Regions from separate parts of the Homo sapiens genome. Here regions 1, 2 and 3 are each linked to region 4. Evidence: promoter capture Hi-C in 16 types of primary human blood cells and fetal thymus (Javierre and others, 2016). All regions are on one chromosome and are shown on one strand. The core of a region is centred on a gene start or on the middle of the fragment in contact, and the rest is flanking DNA. Distances in the headings are between cores, read along the strand shown.

Region 1 (3,485 bases), core at 313-2,812, 1.9 Mb after region 4:
TAACAAGAAAGAGCATCAGACAAATCCAAACTGAGGGACATTCTACAAAATAACTGGCCAGTATTCTTCAAAAGTATCAAAGTCATGAAAGACAAAGCAATCTAAAGGAACTGGCCAGGCGCGGTGGCTTACACCTGTAATCCCAGCACTTTGAGAGGCCAAGGCAGGCGGATCACTTGAGGTTAGGAGTTCAAGACCCGCCTGGCCAACATGGAGAAACCACGTATCTACCAAAAACACAAAAATTAGCCGGATGTGGTGGTGCACTCCTGTAATCCCAGCAACTCAGGAGGCCGAGGCAGAAGAATCGCTTGAACCAGGAGGCGGAAACTGCAGTGAGCCGAGATGAGCCACTGCACTCCAGCCTGAGTGACAGAGCAAGACTCTGTTTCCAAAAAAAAAAGAAATCTAAAAGAACACTATCACAGACTGGAGAGACCAAGGAGACATAACAAAATACAATGTGGGATACTGGGTTGGATCCTGGACCAGAAAAAAAGGATATCAATGGAACCATTGGTTAAATTCAAATAAATGTTTTAGATTAATTGTTACCAATTGCCTGGTTTCAATGATTGTATTATGGATACATGAGAACAACAGGAGATGCTGGCCAAAAGGTATATACATAGGAACTTTCTAGACTATTTTTGCAATTCTTTTTTCTAAAATTATTTCAAAGTAGAAAGTTTTAAAAAGTCATTTCAGATGAAAGATAAAAAGACAAAAGGGAGGGATTATTGACTCTAACATAAAAATATGCTATCTCTAACTTCTGTGCTAAAAATGTTCAATAACTACAAATAAGGATTAAGCTGGAATAAATAAATTACAATTGTTCAGGAAGAGCCTGTGATTGGGATACTCTAGAGAACAGAGTAACTCTCCAGGGCACTGAAGTCTTTCCAGATAAATGACCTATGTTATTTCCCCCTTACTCTTTTAATCCATTTCAACTCATTTATTTGTCATCTACTATGTGCATGTAAGTGTGCTAGGGCCTGATGAGATTTTTATATATAAGAAGGGATTATTTAAGTACACAAAATAACAAAGAAAAGTACAGAGTCACAAAACCAGAACTAATTTTTCACTCCTATACACTCTAGCAATCAATCTGGACACCCTTTCACAGAAAACGTTGCTAAGACTGGGCCTCACAGCACAAACCCAGCCCCGTCAATGGCCAGTGGTCGTGACAAACAGAATTAGCTCCAAATTTACGACTGAAAATGCCACAGTGACTCTGTGAGAAATACTCCATTTCTTTTTTTTTTTCCCCCATCTAATCACTATGTGCATTTCTTTTTTCTAACATAAAATTAAAGAACTAGATTATCCGAGTACTAGGGAAAAGGTTAGTCTGGTATAAACCTGGGAAGGTTTACTTAATCTCCTCTTACAAGCGGCCTGAGAGATCAACGCCACATCAGGTGATGCTGAGGCTACAGAAGTGTGGTCTCAGGACTGGCAGCTGCAAAGTCACCCCGGGAACCTGTGAGAAATGCAGATTCTTGAGCCCCAGCCCTGGCCTGCTGAGCCAGTTTCTGGTTGATGCCCAAACCCTCTGGGTGACTCCGATACACATTAGGATTGAGAACCACCAATGGAGGAGCAAAAAGACCAGCCATGAATCAAGAGGCCTGCTTCTAATCCTTGTTCTACAACTAATCTCTGAGACTGACGAAACACCTGCCTCCTGTAGGGCACAGCTTTCCTAGTAGACGATGAGGAGTCGGAATAGGGTTGCCACAATCCTCATTCCCTCTAAAAGGTGATAACCCTACGGTAGCAGTCATTCCTCTAAGGCCTGAAAGTGAAAAGACCACCCCTAGTATTTCACCAGATGTTTCTCTCTTTCATCAAAGTGAAATAAGTAAAATTTCCTCATCAACTAGTCTCTGAATTACACCGGATATATCTAAAATTATTTCTTCTATTTTAAATAAAATTGCATTTACTTTGCTTTAGCTAACGCCATCTAAACTCTAATTTAACCATTTCTCCTATTTAATTCTATATCAAGTCTACTTTGAAATAATTCCAAAAATTCCAAGAAAACTGACACTCAAATGTCTCCTCAGGTGTGCCGACATAATAAACTCCACCACAGTTCAGGACTGTGCTCTGTGTCGTCACATAAAGAATATGTGTGATGACATCACAAGAAATAAAACAAGTATGAAAATCAAAGAATTTTTACATGTTTAGATCTAGGCTGGGTGCAGTGGCTCACACCTATAATCCCAGCACTTTGGGAGGCTGAGGCAGGAGACATTGCTTGAGTCCAGGAGCTCGAGATCAGCCTGGGCAAGACCCCGTATCTACTCAAAATATATTTAAAATATATTTTTTGAAAAATATATAAATGTAGGTATCTCCATTATGTCATAAGAAACTGGTTCTTTCCAGATTTTCTTCATAATAGTTCTAAAAAGCACCTTTCCAGATAGAATTCAGCATTACACACATGATGAGCTTCAACCTGAAACTCATTACAAATCAATTGCTGCATTTTTTTCACATAGCAGATTTCCAAATTTTATTTTTAAGATCACCATGTAGCTATTAAATACAAAAATGATCTCCCAGAAGTTTTTCACCTGTTTCCTTAAACTGCTCTCATTTATTTTCTGGAAAAGCTCTTCATGTCCACATCAAGCCCAGGCCCAGGCCCGCCGCTAGTGATCCCTGACAATCTGAAGGGTTAGGGCGCTTTGGCGTGAAACCATGGCCTCTTTCCTCTCCAAAAGTTCACAGAAACATATTATTCTGCAGGTAATTTCATCGGGCTTAGGAAGTCAGGAAAAGCTCTGATGAAGAACCCAAGGACCGCAGTCTCCACCGACGGTCCAGGAACTAGAATCTCCTTGCTTGTCACACTAGTCCAACACTAACACACACAGACGTGGGCTGGGTTTTTGCTGGTTTGGCTAGTTAATGACGTACCTTTCTAGTATACCAATGTGTGTCCCACAATTATATCTTACTGGGTTCATAATAAAGTTAATTTTTTAAGTTTAAAAAAATGTGGTTTTCATAGAAATCCTATAAAAAGTTATATAATTCCCTACTTTCTTAACATGTATATAGAATATAATTTCATATTTTCTTGACGATTCAGGGTAACAACTGCTGTGCTGGACAGAAAACCTTAACTGCTATGTATGAGGAAACAAACTTCCTATGATTTTTTGATTTTTTAATTTTTTATTTTTTTCAAACTCCGTATTATGCTATGTGCTTAATTCATGGCATGGGCAGTACTGTTCTGACCACTGCTGGATAACAGCTATAACAGAGTGAGGGCTGGCTTTGTCAGCTCCTGGATGAAGACTTATCCACATTCCACCAATTAGCACTCACACAAAAGCTACAAGATAATACGCATTTCATAGTGAAGTTACTGAGGCTCAGAGAGATGAAGAGACTTACCTGAAGTCACACAGCTAGGAGCTGCAGACAGCAGATGCAAGGCCCATGCT
Region 2 (3,574 bases), core at 46-2,545, 1.9 Mb after region 4:
TGCTTGAACCTGGGAGGCGGAGGCTGAAGTGAACCGAGATCACGCCATTGCACTCCAGCCTGGGCAACAAGAGTGAAATTCCATCTCAAAAAAAAAAAAAGAAAGAAAGAAAGAAAAAGAAAAGAAATTATTACACCTGCCATCACTTCTCTTCTACATCATGCTAGGAATTAAAAAGAATGCATCATTTTGTTGCTTCAGAAAATCTCCTGCATTCTTGTCTTTGTATTTTATCAATTGATTAGGGCTTTGGGGAGCTGAGCAAAGTATAGAACATATCCAACCCAACCTCTGCCTTACAAGAACTTACTTCCTAAAGAAGAAAGCTTTCTCAACATGGTAAAGAGGAAGATAAGTGCTCTGCAATACAGAATGTAGATGTTACATAGTTGGTCAGTGGAAGAGCAGAAGGAATATGTGCTAATGTTAGGACTTGGTTTAAGTTTTTCTTCGTTATGAAAGGCAGTAGTATTACAGATCGTTAACATAGTTATGCTAGGTCTAACCATCGTACATTAAGATAGAAACAAGTGTTTTGTATAATCAAGATCTCAAATCATGATTTAATTTTTTAGCCATTACATGTACAATTAATATTCAAACTTGATCTGAAAAATAACATTAAAAATAACAGATAACACTGAATTCATTTAAAAGTAGACATTTAAAATAGTATAGTACACTTTTTTTTTTTTTAAGAGACAGGATCTCCCCATGTTGCCCAGGCTGGTCTCAAAACTCCTGGGATCCTCCTGCCTCTGCCTCCCGAAGTGCTAGGATTACAGGCAGGATCCACCACGCCTGGCCCTTAAAATAGTATAGTATACTATCTACTAAACTAGATTGTGTTTAAAAGTCACTTGGCCCTATCATGAAACAGTTTGGGGATTTGTTTTTAAGTGAAAACAACTATCCGTAGAAGTGAGAAGTCAGATAAAATAGCATTTGTTTTCTTTTGTGAGCTTTCTCCTTCCTCTGCTTCTTCTAAGAACTTTGTTGAGCATGTCTAAATGGTCAGATGCTGGGCTTCGTGCTCTCCTCAGCTTAGCTTCTCATCACCTGCAGGAATGGCAGAGCAGTGTCATCTCACTCTGTCTTCTGATTGCTCAAGAGGAATCGTGTGTGTGTGTGTGAAAGTGAAATCTTCCAGTTTTGCAATGTCAGCTTCCCATTCAAAAGTGCTTAGGACACCGTGAAAGCCACATCAGCGGGGGTGAGGGAGCCAGTGCAGGGCTCCCGGGCTTCCAGTTTGTGGCCTCTGAATGAAGGTGTGGCCCCTGGTAAGATACAAGCACTGCTGGGAAGCCTAACACATCGAACAGTTATTAGCCATTGACACCTCTGCATGGCTTGTTTTCTGTGCTTCTCCCCAGTACTAGCTGCTCCCAAGAAGGTTTCAAACTAGGAACAAGGTGAAGTGGAGAGTATAAAGATGAGAGAAGTCCAGGAAGGGTATAGCACACCTGGTAGGGAAGACCCCCAAAATCGCTGCTGCAAAGTCAAGAGGAAGATTTTAGCAATCATACTGATTATCTAATGTGTGTAGCAACACCCCACTGGATGCCTGAAGTACAGAGATTAGTAGGATATGGTCGCTAATATTATACAGCGTGAAGTTTAATAGGAGGGAGAGAGATGCACAGAAATCATGAGTGTGCATTGCAGCATGAGAATGGATGATACAAATGTTGAAATCATTCATTTCAGCACTTAAATGTTTCCTAATGACATACAGTATGCCTGGAACCTTCAAGACATCAGGATAGACAAAACAGACAATCTCTGCCTGTAAAGATGTTACAGTCTAGCAGGAGAGCTGGCAGTTTTCAAATTGTAGAAATACAATCATGCATCACTTAACAGGGATACTGAGAAATGCGTGTCTGGACATCTTCAGCCACCCTAGAGTGTACCCACACAAGCCTAGATGGCATAGCCTACTACACGCCTAGGCAGCATGGTGTGGCCTATTGTTCCTAGGCTATAAACCTGTGCAGTGTGTTACTGTACTGAATACTGTAGGCAGTTGCAACACAGTAGTAAGTATCTATGTAGGTAAACATAGAAAAAGGTACAGTAATAATATGGTATTGTAATCTTATGGGACCACTGTCATATATGTTTGTTGTTGGCCAAATTGTCAGTATGTGGTACTTGACTAAGTATTTAATGGCAATGATAATAAATGCGACAAAGGAACTATGGAGACTATGGTAGCATAATAGGGACACCTCACTTACTCATGAGGAATAAGAAAAAGCTTCCCTGAAAAATTACGACTAAGCTGAGATTTGAAGAATAATGTGGAGGGTGGGTGGGAGGGGTATTAGTGACACCAAGGGGGTTGTAAGGGTGTTGCTGGAGGAGGGAGAGACTCTGAGAAGGCTCTGAGGCAGGGAAGCTCTTGGATGTTTGCGAAACTGGGAGGATTTGAAGGATGGGGTTGTCAGGGTGTATCTAGTGAGGGCAGAGCAAGCCAGAAGAGTAAGCAGAGAGCAGGTTGAGCAGGACTTGTAGACCTTCTTGGGATGTCTGACTTCATCCTCAGACCATGTCGCCAGTTGAGAGCTTTAAGCAGGGTGAGAGGGACAAGCCAGTTGCCGCATGGCATGTACAGTGAGAGGGGCTGTCGTGTAAGCAGTGGCTGGTTAGGGGCCTCTGCAATAACCCAGCAAAACTGAAGAGTGTTGGCTTATGAGCTATGCGAGGTGACAGTGGAACTAGAAGGAAGTGGTGGCTTTTGAGAAACGGGCTGGACTGGCCCTGATATTGAATTGCATTGGAAAGAGAGGGAAGTGTGGAAGACGATGCAGGGCTCTGCTATCAACTAGCCGATGGTCCACTTACCAAGGTAGGGAGCACCAGAGGGGTAACAGTCTCGAGGAATGGATGGAAGTTTTCATACTAGGTGAGTAGAGTTTCAGATGTGAAATGGGCAGGAAGATGGGTGGGCCTGATTCTCGGAAGAGGGGGCTGGGTTGGGAGTCATGGGCATCTGGCGAGTACAAAGGCCACGGAGTTCCCAGCATGAGTGTGAACAGTGAGAAGTGTCCGGGAGCAAGCCCTCGGGGGAGCCCTCGCTCACTCCCTTCTCCCAGCAGCAAGTGCAAAGGAACAGTGTCACTGACCAGGGCTCTCGCACTGTCTGGCACACAATCACCGAAGTTTCCAAGCCAGTACATTTTATTTTTATGAATACAACATAAAGCCAGAAACATTCCCAGCCTCATTGTTTTCCAGAAAAGCATCTACCAAACTCAAATGATATTCCTAACCCCTAAACTTATCACAATAGTTACGCTTTAATGCGCTACGTCTACTAACAAAGCCAGATACATTGCCCTCCTCCAATACAACAAAGTCCCCCTGATGGGCATGCCACAATGTACGCCCAACTTTACTGGGTGATCATTTTTGTCCAAGTGCATATATTTCATCATTAAAATGTTAAAAAACAAATATTTAAATTTCTCCCTTTTTTGCCTCCATATGGCTGGTTAATATATCTGAATAACAACTGAGTAGCTTTCTTTTATCCCTTTGAGTACAAGGAGCTTGGAAGATACTCCTTTCT
Region 3 (3,654 bases), core at 764-3,263, 1.5 Mb after region 4:
AGTGACATCTAATCCAATATAACTTCACTGCTTAGTAACAAATGATAAAATTATGTTATATAATACTTGAAAAAAAATTATGACTAGTTTCATTAACTAAAACATTAATAATTATTGCATGATTATAATGCCAGTCTTTCTTAAAGGACTGATTTCCTAATAAACAACAATGAAAACTTTCATATTATTTTCTCCTTTGCCCAACATTTTTTATTTTATATCCTAAGTGGAAGGAGAGAAGCTTAATATAATATCTGTATTGACATAATCATATAGCTATTTAATCATAGTCATTTATGATATAGATTAAAGATATATATTAACAATAGTATACAAAGAGATCACAGTAACACAAGTATCTATTTTGAAAATAATTACTCAGAAGTAACATTTTGTCTGTTTCTCCCAAGTAACTGTTTCTGGGTAAGTTGGTTTTTGAGATTATCTTAAGTGAGCCAAATGATCAAAAAATGCTTTTCTAATTGGCATTAATATTGAAACTGGCCTCTTTCCCTTTAGAAAGCATTAAATTTTGTTATAAAATATTGAACATATTAATATTGGAAAAGTCAATAGAAATTAAGTCAATTGAGGTACCACAATGACTAAAATATGTGTAAAATACATTTATGTGGGTATGTAAAAGTGTGTGTCCACGTGCACGCACATGCACACACACAAAACATACACTATCCCTTTTTCTCCTTACTTTGAGCCTATCTTTTGTTTTTTCTCGCCTCCCATTAGGGTCTCAACTTTTCTCCCAGAATAAAGCAGCCCAGCCACAGTTCCCTAATGGACCAGATTCCTGCTGGTGTGGTGAAGCCTATCAAAAACAAATTTCCCGTCTACACAATGACATCGGAGTAAGGGGCTGTCTGCAGCCAGCTGGTAAAAGGTAGTGGTATACGCTGTGGTCATATTGTCAGGAGAAGTGAAACAAATCCTCTATATTTCTATATGCAACTATATTTACATATTTTCAATTAAGTACAATTTAGGACATCTAACAAGAGTTGAAAAGCTCCTCTCTAAACGAAGCCTAGCGTTACGGAGTGTGGGGCAGGACACAGAGGCAGGGAGCTCCTCCTCAAGGAAGCTGCATGTCTATCAGGAATGAAATGTAATACAAGGGAAATTAGCAATCTGGAAGTTTAAAAAAATCCAAGTTAAGGCGACTAAGGATGCCTGCAGAGAAAAGATGGCCATGATACAACGTAAGCAGACATACACGGCAGATGTACAAAGCCACCAAATTAAAGTAGAAAAAAACAGATAACAAAATCTACACATTAAGGCGTTGGTTGCTGCTCCTGCAGCACTGATGGTCTTTATCCACCACAGAAGGCGGCATGCCAAGCTGACGAGAGCACAGGCTGAGGAGTCAGATAGCCTGGACGGACCCCAGCTCTCAAGCAATGTCCCCTTGACAAGGACATCCTGAATCCAACCATTTTCATCACCTCCACTACCCTCATTCAAGTGATCACTCTCTCTTGCCAAGACGTCTCATTTCCACGCAGTCCTTTCTCCACCTAGAAGCCAGAGTGACTTTTTGCAAAAAACAAATCAACGTAGGCTCCTCTCTTGCTCACCGTCATTCTATGGCTTTCCGTCAGAGTCAGAAGAAACATCTCTACATGCCCTGTGTGGTCTACCTTACTTCTCTCTTCACTCCAAGCCCAAATGACCATATTCCATTCCACTCCCACTGCTCCATCACCAACGGCTCTGCCAAGTCCATGTTGGCCTCGTGTTCCGTCAACCATTCCAGGCAGTGCTCTTCCCAACACATTTTCACGGCCCTGGCCTTCCCTTCATTCAGATATCTGCCATTTCCTCACAACTTCTGGGAGAAATGGGATGTGTTCATTATTTTAATTATGGCCATGGTTTCAAGGGTTTATACTTCTGTCAAAACACATCACACTGTACACTTTAAATATGTGCAATTTATTTTATGTTAATTATGCCTCAATAAAACTGTTTTTTAAAAGTCTTATTCTTAAGAGAGATTTTCCCTAACCTTGTATGCACAATCGTCCAGCCCCTTCCTGCTCCCATTCTCTCTGGTTGTCTTCCTCTTTCTGCCTCTTTTCCCAACATGGCATTACCATGCACAGTAGTTAGTTTATTTACTTATCATCTATCTTTCCCTGAGGGTTAGCCTCTGTCTCCAGGATCTAGAACAGTGGCTGCTACCCAGAAAGCGCTCGACAAGTATTTGGCAGTAAACAGGTGGGTAACTTGGGCCAGTTCCTAAACTCCCTGTGCCCAAGTGCTTCTCCATGAGCATGACAGCGCAGCACCAGGGGCTGTGGTTGGGATTAAAGGGATAATATCAGGGATGGCATAGAGCACAGTGCCCAGCACAGGCCAATTGCAAGATACTCATTAGCTACCAAAGGTTCATAGAGAGTATCATAAATTTGAGGAAATTCACTGCTAAGTTATCTAGTCCTTTTATTTTTAATGAGTTAGTCACTGCTTTGCAATAATCAAGTATTTTCTTCTCCTTGCCTCCCAAGCTCCTGATCAATAACTGTTGATGCCTCATTAGTAATAAGGGGCAGGGGTCTTACTTTTGAATGACAGAAGCTGAGAAAACTGCTTGCAACACCTTTGCAGTTATTCTAGCAATACTTCATAGAGCTGTGCCAGGGATCACTACTTTGTATGTATTTTCTAATTTCTAACTTAGTATGTTTTCATCTGCTCTATGAAGTACGATCAGAAGTTTCCTAGAATTACTGTTTTTTTTTTTGTCAGATCCTGTTCTGTATGATGGTTTTATTCTCCAATTAACTTTGGTGTATCTGTTAAATATTCCAAAAATCATAATCTTAGAAATTATCTTATTTTACTTTTCATTTAGAAAGTAAGTTATTTCTAAAAATTAATACCCATAAAAAACACACAGACTATGAAAATGAATCAAAGTTAATGATTTAGATTAAAACCTACATACAAAGAGGGAATAAATCTGCAAATATGAAGCTCAACAACAGAGGAAATAAAATAATTTTGAAATAAAAATGCCATGTTTAAGGTTATTTTCTGGTAGTTAAGCAATCTAGGGATGCTATGATGATGATCAAGGAAGCAGCAGCAAAGCAGTGTGTCAAAGGCATGCAATCAATGAGAAGACGAGGCAGTGAGAGGCAGAAGGGTCAACATGAACGTACTGAGAACTCACGCTCAGTGTTCTGCAGTTTGCCAATTTTCTACAAGATCTCTGTGCAAAACAGTTTAGGCAAATCAACAGAGGGACAATGTTGACTTAATGAGTCAAGAAACCAAGAACAGGGAGGAGAGAAAGTGAAGGGCTTGGCCCCACACCAAGGGCAAGCCTTTGTTACTCCTGCCTTCCCTTCTCATTGCCTTGTGGGGATTTCCACTGTTTACAAGTAATTGGTGCAGTGAACATGTTCTGCTTACGTCTATTTAAAATGTCTGTATCATAGAGAAAAAAGAAAAGTTCAGTACATTTGAACATTTGGAGGCACTGGGGGTATCACAGTAGTAGTGGTCATAATAGAGAAGTTATTTAGACTCTTGTGTGCTGCCCTGCTACCACATGAAGGGAACTAAGACTATTATTCTTCATTGTAATATTTAATATGTGCCCATTCCAGAATCAACAAAAGGAAAAAA
Region 4 (3,548 bases), core at 754-3,253:
GTTTAAAAGCACAATATTATTGTAGACAGACAATGCCCTGAGTGAAATCACATGTGGGTGACTTAAGACAGGGCCCTAAACCGGCTAGAAAAAGGAAGCAAGTCATGAACAGTTTTATGTGGAGGGGTTTGGAAGTCTTGATCACCATTCAATGATCTACCTTGTCCATTTTCAACACATGGAAATTGTTAGCGCAAGTTTGTACTTTAAAATAGACCCAAGAATGCAGATGAACGTAGGTTTACAGGACTGATATTCATTCCAAAATCCTACCAAAAAGCTATTAAAGTGTCTTCAAATTTTAATCTTTGTTGTTACCTACATGTATGTAATAATATGTGTATACAAGGACATTTACGGCTTTGTAATTAACTGAATTTGGGGATACTTTCTTTGTGCATTTTCACAGTGTACTGAAATGAATGGTGGGCACGTCAATACTTTTCGGTGAATCAGACTTAAACGTGATTGCTGAAGAATACATCCCACTTAGGCATTCATGCTGAAGCCAGCAACAATTGTCCGTGACCTTTAACATGCCCGCTCTCCAAATCAGTGCAGGTCGTTAGTCACACGGAGCTTACATTTGAGGACTCGCGGATCCTTCATAGCGGAGGTTGTCCCTGTCTTTCTGCCTGACTCCCCCCCGCCCCCCGACCCCGACACACACTCCCCACCGCCCCCAGAAACATCACACATGCAGAATGCCCCCCCCGTCTGATCGCCAGCTTTCGGGCACATGCGCCTCCCTTTGCAGCGCGTCTGGAGTAGTTTCTTTTGTAAACGCCCTAAGTTGGGGAGGGCCGCGGGCTGCGAGTGTGAGGCGCAGAGAGAGACGCCGCCGCTGAGGTAACCGCCAGGATTGCAGCGCTGATTGCTACGCGGAGCCACGTTGGGCGTCTTGGACGGAATCCACCTCCACTGCGGAGTTATCACGAGGAGAAGGAGAACAATACGGCCAGGAGCCTGGTGGGAGAAGATAGTGTTACCCCTCCGCAGGCCGCAGCTCCCCGGGTCTACGTCACCGGCCGTGAAGGGGCGCTCGCCCTCGCTAGCTCCGACCCGCCCCTCCCCCGCCCCCGCGCGCCCGCCCTCCCCTCCCCCACCCCGGCCATCCCTGCCCTGTAACAGGAGAGCGTTTTGGAGTCAAATTAGGATTTCTAGTCCCAGACTCAACTTATTACAACTAACTACTGCTCGTGGGGAGTAGGTGAGGTGAAGAAATGAAGTTTTAAGAACAGAAAAATAAGAGTTGAACTTTCGAGGCTACCGGTAAACAACCCCTTCATTTTTAAATGGCCGGGTGGCAGAGCCGCTGTTTGAAGTCTTTCCAGCGGGACCTCTGTGACCCTTGATTCAGGACTTAATGTATTGATCCTGCATCTGAACACCCCCAGAGGCATTTACCAGGAAGTTGAGTGACACGCACACGCTACGCCGTGTGTAATGCACACGCACCTGGGACCCCCGAAGGGGTGTCCCCATTTCAGTCCAGATGGGGCGCAGTGCCCAGGTACCCGCCGGCGGGACCCGCATCCCGAGCACGTCTGTACGTATGGATGCGCGTGTGCGCGCGGAAACGGCCTCCGGGAGCCGGGGCTGCAGCAGCCTTAGACCTTGACGAGGGGCGACCACTGGCCGCTGGAACCGTGATTCAGTGCTATTAGGGGAGGAATTGGCTGTGTCTGAGTCACTGCAAGCCTCCAGACTGTCCCCTCAGTGTGGCAGAACTTTGTGCTGATGAGACAATAGTGGAGTGTGCGTTTCCTACAGGGCAGACCATTTCCAGGCTGGGGGAAGCCTCCGGCCTGCGCCGGGCCGTGAGCGCCCGGCCCCCTCCCCGTGCCGCGCAGCCCCCCGAGCCCGGCTCGCGCCGGGGCCCCCGCGGGGCGGACGCGTCCGGGGCGCGCGCGGGCGGCGCGAGGAGGGGGCCGGGCGCGTGGCGGGCCCCGCGCGCCCTCGCGCGTCCCCCGCGCCCGGGCGCAGCTGGCGCGGTCGGTCTAGTGCAGCGCTCGGCTCCGCGCCGCGGGCGCTCGGCTTCACCTTCAGATGCGCGGGGCGTGCGCGTCCTCCTCCCCAGGCCCGCCGCCTCCCTGCCAAGGTAGGGGCCGCGGGCGGGGGGAGGGCTGCGCCGCAGGGGCCGCGGGCGGGCGGTGGGCGCGGGGCCCGGAGCCCCGACGTGCCCCGTACTCTGGTGTGCGCCGCTGGGGGTAGGGGGGGAGGCGCTGGGGAGGGGGGTGCGCCGGGGAGGGGCCCCCCGGGCGCGGGGAGGGCTACTTGGCTTTCCCGGTGGGTAGTTGCTCTGCTCGTCAATTCCAGGATAGGGGAAGATGCAACTTCGGGCGGCGGGGCGAGCGCCCGGGAGGTGGTTTTTACCGCAGTGGAGGGGCGGGGTGGGGGCCGGGGTGGGAGCGCGGAAGAGGCTCTGGCTTTGTACACTTTGTCAAAGGCGACGCGGGAGGAGGGGAGCTCGGATGCGCTCTCCATCCATTAGGAGACAAAGAGCAAATTGCCTTACTTTAAAGTAAAACGCTCCGGCTAATGAAGGTGGGTGATGGGGCTGCGGGCCCGAGGAGCCGCTTCAATTATTAAGGGTTTGGCGGATGGGATCGATGCCTGTGGGCACCGCGCGCTGCTGCCTAGGGGACGTGTTTGCGTGGAGGTGGGGGTGGCCTTGTTTTTTACGGCCCCCTCCCCGGCTGCTTGCCAGTCTGCTGGGAGCTTCTAAGTGACCCTAACGTTAAAGAAGTGAGAGGTCCTGGAAGGGAAGTTCGGGCGGGGGTGGGGGTGGGGGCGAGGGTCTGGCACCGACTCGGAGAGGGGTGGGCAGGGACTCCTCGGAGCTGCGCCCCGCCGGGTGCGGGTGGGGGAGGCCTCGGTGGCGAGATGAACCCGGGTGTATGAAGGAAGAATGCGGTGGGGTGTGTGTGGTTGGGCGGGAGGTGGGGGGAGGCGCCTCCGCTGCCATTTCCAGGGAGAACTAACAGACTGAATAGTTACGATCAGTATTTAGATTAAACCGCCTCAAGTTTTAACGAAACTTTGTATGAATAAGTTTGTTAAATGGCAGCCGAGTGGGGTATTTAAAAGCAGCAGTTTATGTGTGTGGTGAGGAAAGCCAGTGGACCCCCGCAATTAGGGACCAGAGGGAACCAGCCTTTTACCCGAAAAATGTGGGTCTGTAAGTCAGCCTCATCTATTATCAGCGTTAATAAGCTTCCCGCAGCAGACCGGGAGCTCTGGGGGCTGTGTGTGTGTCTTACTCATTCCGCTGATAAAGAGTCACCGGGTCTCCGGGTGTGCAAAGATCAACTTGCGCAGCCCTCTTTTTAAATATATTCATTCTGTGCTTTATTTAATCCAGATGCACAAAAAGCCATTTGCTGCTGCATTGTTGGTTTACATTTTTTGAAAAGGCGACTGGTGTAACCTGTGGAATTTGAAATGCAAATAAGAGCCTGTGGGAGTAGAGGCAGAACAGATCAGCATTTATAAAGTGGAAAAGATTTAATGTCTTTGAAATCATTGCAGGGGAAGAAACTGGAGGG

Evidence for each region. Contacts are between HindIII fragments. The CHiCAGO score rates a contact against its expected background, and 5 or more counts as called.
Region 1: a contact is called between a fragment that was not itself captured here and the fragment with the promoter of ZNF516 in region 4, in 1 of 17 cell types (fetal thymus). The highest score is 5.6, in fetal thymus.
Region 2: a fragment that was not itself captured here is called in contact with the fragment with the promoter of ZNF516 in region 4 in 4 of 17 cell types (M1 macrophages, monocytes, M0 macrophages and 1 more); the score reaches 12.6 in M1 macrophages.
Region 3: a fragment that was not itself captured here is called in contact with the fragment with the promoter of ZNF516 in region 4 in 1 of 17 cell types (M0 macrophages); the score reaches 5.3 in M0 macrophages.

The regions. Positions count from the first base shown.
Region 1 is chr18:74,605,274-74,608,758 of GRCh38, reverse strand. The region is part of intron 1 of ZNF407 (zinc finger protein 407); the gene reads right to left. Among named protein-coding and RNA genes, the nearest start is that of ZNF407, 9.1 kb to the right of the region's middle. The HindIII fragment of the contact is 5,749 bases long and covers 1-3,485 here.
Region 2 is chr18:74,586,804-74,590,377 of GRCh38, reverse strand. It overlaps CNDP1 (carnosine dipeptidase 1), which reads right to left. Exons shown (of 12, transcript NM_032649.6): 12 at 3,166-3,574. Among named protein-coding and RNA genes, the nearest start is that of ZNF407-AS1, 9.2 kb to the left of the region's middle. The HindIII fragment of the contact is 1,934 bases long and covers 329-2,262 here.
Region 3 is chr18:74,951,003-74,954,656 of GRCh38, reverse strand. The region is part of intron 8 of ZNF407 (zinc finger protein 407); the gene reads right to left. Among named protein-coding and RNA genes, the nearest start is that of PTGR3, 260 kb to the left of the region's middle. The HindIII fragment of the contact is 3,539 bases long and covers 244-3,654 here.
Region 4 is chr18:76,493,697-76,497,244 of GRCh38, reverse strand. It overlaps ZNF516 (zinc finger protein 516), which reads left to right and starts at 2,003. Exons shown (of 7, transcript NM_014643.4): 1 at 2,003-2,101. It overlaps ZNF516-DT (ZNF516 divergent transcript), which reads right to left and starts at 1,906. Exons shown (of 2, transcript NR_164145.1): 1 at 1,459-1,906; 2 at 1-966. ZNF516-AS1 (ZNF516 antisense RNA 1) reads right to left here. Exons shown (of 2, transcript NR_136504.1): 2 at 3,327-3,548. RefSeq lists silencers at 1,894-1,953, 2,084-2,183, 2,884-2,973. The HindIII fragment of the contact is 7,170 bases long and covers 1-3,218 here.